3 separate regions of the Homo sapiens genome follow, and regions 1 and 2 are each linked to region 3. Evidence: promoter capture Hi-C in human tissues and cell types (Jung and others, 2019). All regions are on one chromosome and are shown on one strand. Each heading gives the region's core, a stretch centred on a gene start or on the middle of the fragment in contact. The rest is flanking DNA. Distances are from core to core; before and after follow the strand shown.

Evidence for each region. The method cuts DNA at HindIII sites, captures the fragments that hold promoters and counts their contacts. A contact is called where the count stands out against the background at its distance.
Region 1: a fragment that was not itself captured here is called in contact with the fragment with the promoter of CDC45 in region 3 in 2 of the 25 tissues and cell types used here (IMR-90 fibroblasts and stomach).
Region 2: a fragment that was not itself captured here is called in contact with the fragment with the promoter of CDC45 in region 3 in 1 of the 25 tissues and cell types used here (lymphoblastoid cells).

Annotation. Positions count from the first base shown.
Region 1 is chr22:19,693,394-19,696,744 of GRCh38, forward strand. No RefSeq gene overlaps it. Among named protein-coding and RNA genes, the nearest start is that of SEPTIN5, 19 kb to the right of the region's middle. The HindIII fragment of the contact is 5,757 bases long and covers 1-3,351 here.
Region 2 is chr22:19,326,464-19,329,710 of GRCh38, forward strand. LOC105372859 (a long non-coding RNA gene) reads left to right here. Exons shown (of 6, transcript XR_938002.3): 2 at 1,935-2,110. Among named protein-coding and RNA genes, the nearest start is that of CLTCL1, 36 kb to the left of the region's middle. The HindIII fragment of the contact is 5,118 bases long and covers 1-3,247 here.
Region 3 is chr22:19,478,213-19,481,413 of GRCh38, forward strand. CDC45 (cell division cycle 45) reads left to right here and starts at 1,708. Exons shown (of 19, transcript NM_003504.5): 1 at 1,708-1,807; 2 at 1,946-2,005; 3 at 2,741-2,833. The coding sequence starts at 1,757. It overlaps UFD1 (ubiquitin recognition factor in ER associated degradation 1), which reads right to left and starts at 981. Exons shown (of 12, transcript NM_005659.7): 1 at 871-981. The coding sequence starts at 873. RefSeq lists silencers at 748-817, 1,608-1,657 and an enhancer at 1,218-1,517. The HindIII fragment of the contact is 17,956 bases long and covers 1-3,201 here.

The DNA.
Region 1 (3,351 bases), core at 312-2,811, 220 kb after region 3:
TTGGGGCACGTGTCGGGATTTTATGGTGTGTGAATGACGTCTCAGTTTAAAATGTTCTAGAGTTACCCAGTGGTGATGGATACACAACTCTGAATATGCCAACAACTTCTGACTGGTACACTTTGAGTGGGTGATTGTATGGTCTTTGAATTGTGTCAATAAAGCTGTCATTTAAAATAAAATACCAATCCGTGCTGGCACAGAGAAGGACTGGGAGACTCCGGGCAGTGCGCAGGCCCCTGTGTCTAGGAGAGTGAGGGGCCTGCTGACCTCGTCCCGGGCAGGCGTCCCAAGAGTCTAAGTTCCAGGCCTTAGGTCTCCTTACGTGGGTCTTGTGCGCATGGCTCAGGTGGAGTGGCGACCTGAACAGTCGGCACTGCTACGTGAGGACGAGTGTGGCCCCAGATGGAAGGCCTGAGCGGAGGCAGCAGGGATGAGGGTGGCATGGGTGTTGTTATGCACTGATTTATGTTCTCCCTTCCAAAACTCCACACCAAAGCCCTCACCCCCAGGACCTCCGAATGTGTATTTGGAGGTAGGGTCCTTAAGGAGGTAGTTAAGTTAAAATAAATTCATGAGGGGGTAGGTCCTGATCCCATATGACTGGTGTCCTTCTAAGAAGAAATTGGGACACAGACATGTACAGAGGGACAACTCCGGGAGGACTCAGGGAGAAGGTGCCACCCGCAAGGCAAGGAGAGAGGCCTCAATCGGAACCAGCCCTGCCCACACCTTGATCTTGGACTCCCAGCCTCCGAGACAAGACAATAAATGCCTGTGGTTAAGCCACCGGTCTGCAGTGCCTCAGGACACAGACACAGGTGGTGATGAAGCCAGGCGAGAACATTTTGAATGCATCTAGGGATAGAATCGGCAGGACTTGCTGATGGATCCAATGCAGGACAAGTAGGTGACCCTGAGGATTTTATTTGAGCAAATGGTGCAGTCACCAGTCAGACGGGGGACCCCCGGGCAAGCACAGTGCAGTTTCTTTGCAGGTGCATCCATGAAGGGTGTGATGCCTACCAGACATTCAGGAGCTGCAGCCAGGTGGGCAGCCCACAGGGGAGTCTGGGCTTCTGGGAGGAAGATGCAGAGCCGTCCTGGACAGGGCAGCAGCAGCACCAGCCTTCACTGGAGCCGGGGCCTGCAGCCTCCATTGGTGGCACACCCAGGTGAGGTCTTCACACTGCCTACACTAAAGCAAATGAACAACAAAAATCATGAGAGACCCTTGGATCAGTTTTGCACGGGAGAAGTCATTTCTTTCTTTTCTTTTTTTTTTTTTCAAGATGGGGTCTCACTCTGACACCCAGGCTGGAGTGCCGTGGCGCGATCTCAGCTCACTGCAACTTCTGCCTCCCAGGCTCAAGTGATGCTCCCACCTCAGCCTCCTGAAGCTGGAACCACAGGCATGCGCCACCACACCTAGCTGTTTGTTTGTTTGTTTTGGTAGAGACGGGGTTTCGCCGTGTTGCCCAGGCTGGTCTCAAACTCCTGAGCACAAGCGATCTGGGATTACGAGTCACTGCGCAGGGTGGGGAGAAGTCATTTCTATGCGCCTCGGGGAAGCAGTGTGGACAAGGCCCGCAGGGCCCTGCTCTTGGGCTGATTCCCTTGAGGGAGAGCCTAATGTGTAAGTGAAAAATGAAATGTGCAGGAGAGCCACTGGTCAAGCAGCAGTGCTGGGGCAGCAGGCCCTGTCGGGGATGCCAGCAGGCTCAGAGCACAGCCAGGAGGAGCCGGCCTCCAGACAAAAGCACATTTGCTAAAATAACTTTGAGAAATTTTTTAATGTTTTTCAAATTTTTACCGAAATTTAGAAAAATTTCCTCTAAACTTTGCTTAAACCGTGCTAAAAAGTGGGGACAAGCCTGAACAAAGGCCTGACACCAGCAAAGGTCAGCGAGCAGTGCAGAAGAGGCGGGAAATATTGCCAGGAGGTGGCCAGGCAAGGAGAGGCGAGGGAGGTCCCCAGAGCGTCTCCCCACCCCCGATTGGACCCAAGGCACTGGGTAGTTTGCCGAGGGCAGTGCAGCCACCTTGGGCCAGGGTCCCAGCCGCTTGCCCTCTGTCAGGAGTTGCTTTCTTTTTTTTTTTTTTTTTTTTTTGAGACGGAGTCTCGCTCTGTCACCCAGGCTGTAGTGCAGTGGCTCCATCTCGGCTCACTGCAAGCTCCGCCTCCCGGGTTCACGCGATTCTCCTGCCTCAGCCTCCCGAGTAGCTGGGACTACAGTTGCCCGCCACCACGCCCGGCTGATTTTTTGTATTTTTAGTAGAGACGGGGTTTCACCGTGTTGGCCAGGATGGTCTCCATCGCCTGACCTCGTGATCCACCCGCCTCGGCCTCCCAAAGTGCTGGGATTACAGGCGTGAGCCACCGCGCCCGGCCAGGAGTTGCTTTCTTAGGTATCTCCTTGGATCATGAGTTTCAGCGAGGAGGGGTCGTCTGCACAGGAAACACGCCCCGGCCGTTGGAGACTCGCTGCTGCCCCCACGAGGCACTGCTCCTTTGGAGTGAGCTGGCCAAGCACAACACAGAGCCTGCTCCCCAAACTGGGCGGGACAGCGCCAGGCCTACAGTCACCACGGAATGTGCTCTCTCACTCAGCGCCTCTCCTGGAGCCTGAGATGGCTCCATTCAGCACTGCAATCCTCCCAGCGAACCCCAGCCAACCCAAACAGCCTTGTTTGTGCGGGGCTCTGTTTCCCAGTCAGGATACAGGGCAGCAGGGCGGGAAGGAGCCTCAGCAGCTCCCCAGCAGCACACACCACCGGCCTGGCTTCCCTGCTCTGTTCGGGAATCTCCTCCCCCACACCCCCCGCAGCCCCCAGCCCCCCAGGAACACTTCCCCAGTGGGCTCTAGCCTCACCTACACAGCCCCCACCAGACCCCTGCGCCCGTGTCTCAGAGGCTGTCACAGAGACAACCGATGGCCCTGCCCATCATCCAGCTGGTCACGCCGATGCCTCCCCCACCTCCCGCACCACATCTGGTGCCACACAGCTGTGACCAGGTGTGACTGTACACAGGGATGGCCCCCATCCCCTCTCCACTGTCAGTGCCCTGGCCCCAGGCCTCTGCTGTGCCTTTGGGGAGTCCTCCCACTGCCCACTCTGCTGTCCAGAGACAGACAAATATACATTATCCAGTCTGTGACAGAGAGATAAAAGATTCACTAAAATTGTTTAAAAGGATGAGATTCTGCAGATTGTATTTTTCAAAGATGGCCACAACACTTCCTTCTATCCCACATGCTCTTCCAGAACCCTGATACTATCTGTGAATCTCAGTGATCTCATTCCCTTATAAACCATAGAATGCCACAGAACTGATGCTACAGAGCTCCT
Region 2 (3,247 bases), core at 169-2,668, 150 kb before region 3:
TGCCTCAGAATGATGGGGATCGGGGATAGGGCATGATAAAGTGTATGGGGTTTCTTACTGAGGTGATGAAAAGATTCTAATAATGGCTGTGGTTAAAGTGTATGGGGTTTCTTACTGAGGTGATGAAAAGATTCTAATAATGGCTGTGGTGATGGCTGCACATATGATGTGACTACACTGAAAATCATTAGATTGTAAATCGCATGCTGTTAACTATTTCAGTAAAGCCGTTTTTTTTTTTTTAAGCAAAACATGAGCCATCCTTTTCTTTTTTTTTGAGAGTCTCGCTCTGTTGCCCAGGCTGGAGTGCAATGGCATGGTCTCGGCGCACTGCAACCTCTGCCTCCTGGGTTCAAGTGATTCTCCTGCCTCAGCCTCCCAAGTAGCTGGGATTGCAGGTGCGTGCCGCCATGCCTGGCTAATTTTTTGTATTTTTAGTACAGACAGGGTTTCACCATTTTGGCCAGGCTGGTCTCGAACTCCTGACTTCAAGTAATCCGCCGGTCTTGGCCTCCCAAAGTGCTGGGATTGCAGGCGTGAGCCACTGTGCCTGGCCATAATCTTTTCTTTTTTGAGATGGAATCTTGCTCTGTCACCCAGGCTGGAGTCCAGTGGCACAATCTCAGCTCACTGCAACCTCTGCTTCCCAGGTTCAAGCGATTCTCCTGCCTCAGCCACCTGAGTAGCTAAGACTACAGGCACCTGCCATCACACCTGGCTAATTTTTTTTTTTTTTTTTTTTTTTTTGTAGTTTTAGTAGAGGCAGGGTTTCACCATGTTGGCCAGGCTGGTCTCGAACTCCTGGCCTCAAGTGATCCACCTGCCTTGGCCTCCTAAAAGTGCTGGGATTACAGGCGTGAGCCATTGCACCTGTCCTGAGCCATCCTCCTGAGGAAAACGTACTCCATCTTGAGAAAAACCAACAGACGTAGGAATAGAGTACCTAGGTTATAGAGCAAGTATATGTTTAATTCTATGAGGAACGATCACACTGTTTATCAAAGTAACTATTCTTCCTACCAGCAATGCATGAGAGTTCCAGTTGCTCCACATCCTCACTAATACACATTATTGTCTTTTTAAAAAATGTAAGCCATTCTAATAGATATGTGTTGTTACTGTTATTTCTTTTGCTGTACAGAAGCTTTTTAGTTTGTCTAATTTGTCTACTTTTTTGTTGTATTTGCTTTTGAGTCCTTAGTCATAAATTCTTTCTTTCTTTCTTTTTATTTTTTTATTTTTTTTGAGACAGAGTCTCACTCTTTCGCCCAGGCCGGAGTGCAGTGGCGCTATCTTGGCTCACTTCAAGCTCCGCCTCCCTGGTTCACGCCACTCTCCTGCCTCAGCCTCCCGAGTAGCTGGGACTACAGGCACCCACCACTGCGCCAGGCTAATTTTTTGTATTTTTAGTAGGGACGGGGTTTCACCGTGTTAGCCAGGATGGTCTAGATCTCCTGACCTCATGATCCGCCCGCCTCAGCCTCCCAAAGTGCTGGGATTACAGGCGTGAGCCACCGCGCCCAGCTTTTTAAATTTTTTTTGAGACAGTCTCGCACTGTCACCCAGGCTGAAGTGCAGTGACGCGATCTCAGCTCACTGCAACCTGTCTCCTGGGTTCAAGCGATTCTCATGCCTCAGCCTCCTGAGTAGCTGGAATTACAGGTGTGTACCACCATGACTGGCTAATTTTTTGTTTTTGAGGCGGAGTTTCACTCTTGTTGCCCAGGCTGGAATGCAGTGGTGCAATCTTGGCTCACTGCAACCTCTGCCTCCCAGGTTCAAGTGATTCTCCTGCCTCAGCCTCCCAAGTATCTGGGATGACAGCCATGTGCCACCATGCCTGGCTAATTTTGTATTTTAGTAGAGAGGAGGTTTTACTATGTTGGTCAGGAAACAGTGTGATCATTTTGGGTCTTGCTTTTATTTTTTGGTAGGTGGATCTGAAGCAGTGCTGCCTTAGTCTCCTTGGACTCTCAGCTCCATTTCCTCAGCTCAAGTAGTCCACTGGGCTCTACCTCAGTTCTGCCTCCTCTTGCTGTGGCCTAGAAATTCTCTCTGGATATCAGAAAACAAAGGACAGTAATCCCTGCCAAGATGGGATACAAACAAGGTGAGCCCCATGATTGCCCAAGCGTACTACCTGGAGTGTCTTCTTCTGTTTTTTTCTTTTTCTTTTTTTTCTTCAAGATGGGATCTTCCTGTGTTGCCCAGGCTGGAGTGCAGTGCCATGATCATGGCTAATTGCAGCCTTGAACTCCTGGCCTCAAATGGTCCTCCCACCTCAGCCTCCCATGTAGCTAGGTCTCCAAGCGCATGCTACTGTGCCCAGCATGGTATCCAGTGTCTTGAAACCACCATTGCATGTATTTTTGACGGGCTCCTTTGGTTGTTTCAGGTAGAAGGGTCAACCTGGTCCCTGTTACTCCATCTTGTCTGTAAGTTGAAGGCCTTGATGTTTTCTGCTTATCTCTTCATCATCTCCAAACGGTGGTGGTAAAGTCACTCACGACTGCTGTTTCCTTCAAGGGAGGAAACGTGCGAAGACTTTGCCCACACAATCTCAATTTGTCCTCATAACGTTGCAGATTTTTTTTTTTTTTTTTTTTTTTGAGACGGAGTCTTGCTCTGTTGCCGAGGCTGGAGTGCAGTGGCGCGATCTTGGCTCACTGCAACCTCTGCCTCCCGGGTTCAAGCAATTCTCCTGCCTCAGCCTCCCGAGTAGCTGGGATTACAGGTGTGTGCCACCACACCCAGCTAATTTTTGTATTTTTAGTAGAGACGGGGGTTTCATCATGTTGGTCAGGCTGGCTCGAACTCCTGACCTCGTGATCTGCCCACCTTGGCCTCCCAGAGTGCTGGGATTATAGGTGTGAGCCACTGTGCCCGACCCCAGTGCAGATTTTTTTAGTCTCAATCTCTATTTGACAGCTAAAAAACTGAGGCCCAGATGTTTGCTGGTTTGGAGCCCAGACAGGCCTGTTGGCATATATTGCTTCCTGGAGCTCCACAAAGCTCGCAATGTCTTGCTGCATAGTTGCTAAGGGAGCTGCCTCACCTGCACAGCAAGTCTCTGGCTCTTCATTCCTTAAGAGTCCCACTTGCAGCCTGGCTTTTTATGTGTACACACACACACACTCACACAAACTATCCTGGCTTTATTTGGCATGAACACATGCCTGGGTCTCATCCAGCCACTTGACATCCGAGTGAGACATGGAGTGGAATGGCTGCTAGGCCAGAGATCAGT
Region 3 (3,201 bases), core at 458-2,957:
ACACTGCCTGGAACATATCAGGTATTCTTGAGTGGATGAACTCAAGAATAGAAATAAGCCAGGGTTTGACAGTGACACACTTGGGATAAAATCTAACAATCATTCCTTGTCTTTACTAAAATAAACAGGTGACAGGAAGACAATACCGTAGAGTGCTTTGCAGCCAGACAGACTTGGCTTCAACTCTCCAGTCCCTACTTCTGTGACTCGAATAAAGTACCTCTGTAAACGTTAGTTTTCTCATGTTTAAAATCATCATCATCCTTGCTTCCAAAGGGATTGTAGGGATTAAAAGAAATAAGCCGCGATGAGGGAGTACAGGTGTTAAAAGCTGTGTAACAGGAAATGTACCAGCAGGTATTAGCTTCCATCGTTATCATTACCGAACACAACACCGCTGTACAGATTCGAAGGCACGAACCCGTAGGCACGGAGCTCACGGAGCTGGGGCAAGAGCTGGGTGTCCCCCAAGAGCGGGGGATGCCCACTACGGATTCTCCCTGGGGAGCGCCCTGATTCTGTTCCCATCCCCAGCAACCTTGCAACTAACTTTGGGTTTATGGAAACCTGTTGCGCGTCCAGCACTTGGGAAACCCGTGAATGGACACAAACCTTCCTTTCTTTCGTCAAGGAGGGCAAGTCCGGCTGAGACAGAATGCGAGCCACGTTCAGGACCGGCGGACGCGACCACAGGCGGTTAGTGGTCAAGGGTCCTGCTTGTGCCCGGTGCGGCCGATGAGCCTGCAGGCCGGACTCAGGCCCGGGTGACTCGGCACCTCCGCCGCCGTCCCGCCCCGCCCTGCCCCGCCGGGCCCTACCTCAGGCCCCGGGCCAAGGCCCAGCCCCCGCCCGCTGCCCGTCAGCGCTTACCATGATGGACACCACCTGGCAGACTCCGCTCCTCTCAGGCAATGCAACGAAGAAACCCCGCCGACCGCTCTCCCAGCCGCCGCTGCCGCTGCCGCCGCGCCAAGCCGGTACGCCCCAGAGGCTCACCGGAAGTGCCGGACCCGAGACCCGGAGGGGGGGTGCCCGGGACAAAGCGTCGGCTGCAAAAGAGAAAAGGCCAGGCGAAGACGCTAGGCTCTAAAACACCCTCAGTAGAAGCATTAAAATGCCCTTTCGTGATTTATTTCCCCTTTTATAGGTATTTTTAAACGTTATTTTAAATTACGTGTTGACAGTATTCCCCTCCAGACGAATTTAGTAGGGCCCATTGTCCTTACGACTACACTACCCACAATGCACTACCCAGACTGCCTCTGCTTCAGCCATCGAGGACTCGGGCGGAACTAAGCTACAAATCCTTCTTCAAACCACACCAAAAACCTATTGCAAACGTAAATGCTGCCCCATTGGGTATGTGACTGAGTTTAATGTATGGTTAGAAGTATACTTTCCCTGAGGGTTCCCAGTGGGAGGCAGTAGGCTTCTCTTCCCAAAGTAAAGATGTCCGCCCAGCGTCGCTTTTCTGGGTAAAAGCGAGTCAGAGTTGAAGGGGGCAACAGTGTTTGCGTTCGGCCTCAGAGGTGACGCTTCTTTGGGGGCGGGCTGGAGTTTTCTGGCCGTGAATGGCAGAGCGCTAATGGCCGCCTCCAATGTGGCCCAATCAGAAAGAAAGGAAGGCTGGGAACTAAGAAGCTATTGGTTGGTGATCCCTGGACCAATCGGAGGAGCCGTGATTTGGCGGGAGTCTTGACCGCCGCCGGGCTCTTGGTACCTCAGCGCGAGCGCCAGGCGTCCGGCCGCCGTGGCTATGTTCGTGTCCGATTTCCGCAAAGAGTTCTACGAGGTGGTCCAGAGCCAGGTGACGCCCAGTCCGGGACCCCCGCCGAGGCCTTGCCGGTGGGGAAGGGATGAGGGGGAGCGACCGTGGGTGACCGGGAGGCAGGGGAGGGCCGGGGTTCGGGTCGCCGTGTTCAGCCGGTCTGCTCTTCCCCGATAGAGGGTCCTTCTCTTCGTGGCCTCGGACGTGGATGCTCTGTGTGCGTGCAAGATCCTTCAGGTGAGTTCTGCGGACCCTAGGAGGGCGGGGCCGGCGCGCGAGGTGAGGGTGCTGCGTGGGGGCGCAGGGCGGGCAGAGTGTCAGGATGGGTGCTGAGGGCTTAGGGTGGGAGAGGGAGCAGGGCAGGAGGTGAACAGCAAGTGAGAGGAGAGAGACTCGGAGGAGAGGTTGCCTCCCTGTCCCAACGGTGTGGGGTGGGATAAAGGATTAAGTAAAAGGTAAAGAGACTAGTTTGTATTTTTGCAATAAGCTATTAATATTAATAGGTGAACACAGCAGTTGCATTTGGGGGAAACTTTGGATCTGTCGTGGCCTCTCAAATGGGGGATTTGAGAGAGAGGAATCTGTGACAACTGTGGGTATAGTCGTGTCACAGGTGTTGCTGGGAATATGGGAGCCCCTAGTCTATTAGGGAAGATCGTTAGTTTGGTTTTGAATAGGGCATAGTATTTACGTTGTTTTGGTCAGGCCCTTGGATCAGGAACTTTTCAGAAGGCCTGGAAGTTAAATCGGCATTTCTCCCCGATGTTTTACTTTGGTAATTTGCAAAATTCACAGAATGGTATGGTAAACGCTCATATCCCTAGCACCTAGCTTTTCCCGTAAGCATTTCACTAGCTTTAATGTTATCCCGTGTCTTTTGTCTCTCAACCCGTCTAATCTTCCTCAGTTTCTTTTCAAGGTAAATTGCTAATGTCCTAAATAAGATAGGCTTTGAAAACACTCTCTCTCCAGGCCTTGTTCCAGTGTGACCACGTGCAATATACGCTGGTTCCAGTTTCTGGGTGGCAAGAACTTGAAACTGCATTTCTTGAGCATAAAGAACAGGTATTGAAGATGCGTTTTAGAATAACGTGGCTTTTTACTCAATTGTAATTTCTTGACACAGCATTCTATTTCCACGATAGATTAAGCGTGTATTTAAGTATCAGCTACATTAGGCAATATGGAAGAGAAAAACATGCTGTATTTACTGGTGACTTACCACGCCCAAGTTGTAGAAGCAAAATTGACAGCAAAAAAAGATAATGAATGTGGATAGCCCCAACTTTGAACTTGTTTTAACTTGTTTTGCAGAAATTTGATTGTAAGGTGCTTGGAATCTAGCAGTTTTTAATATGGTCTAGTTAAAATTATTTTATTTTATTTTGGTTTATTTTTTTATTTTTTATTTTTTTTGAAACGGAGTCTCGCTG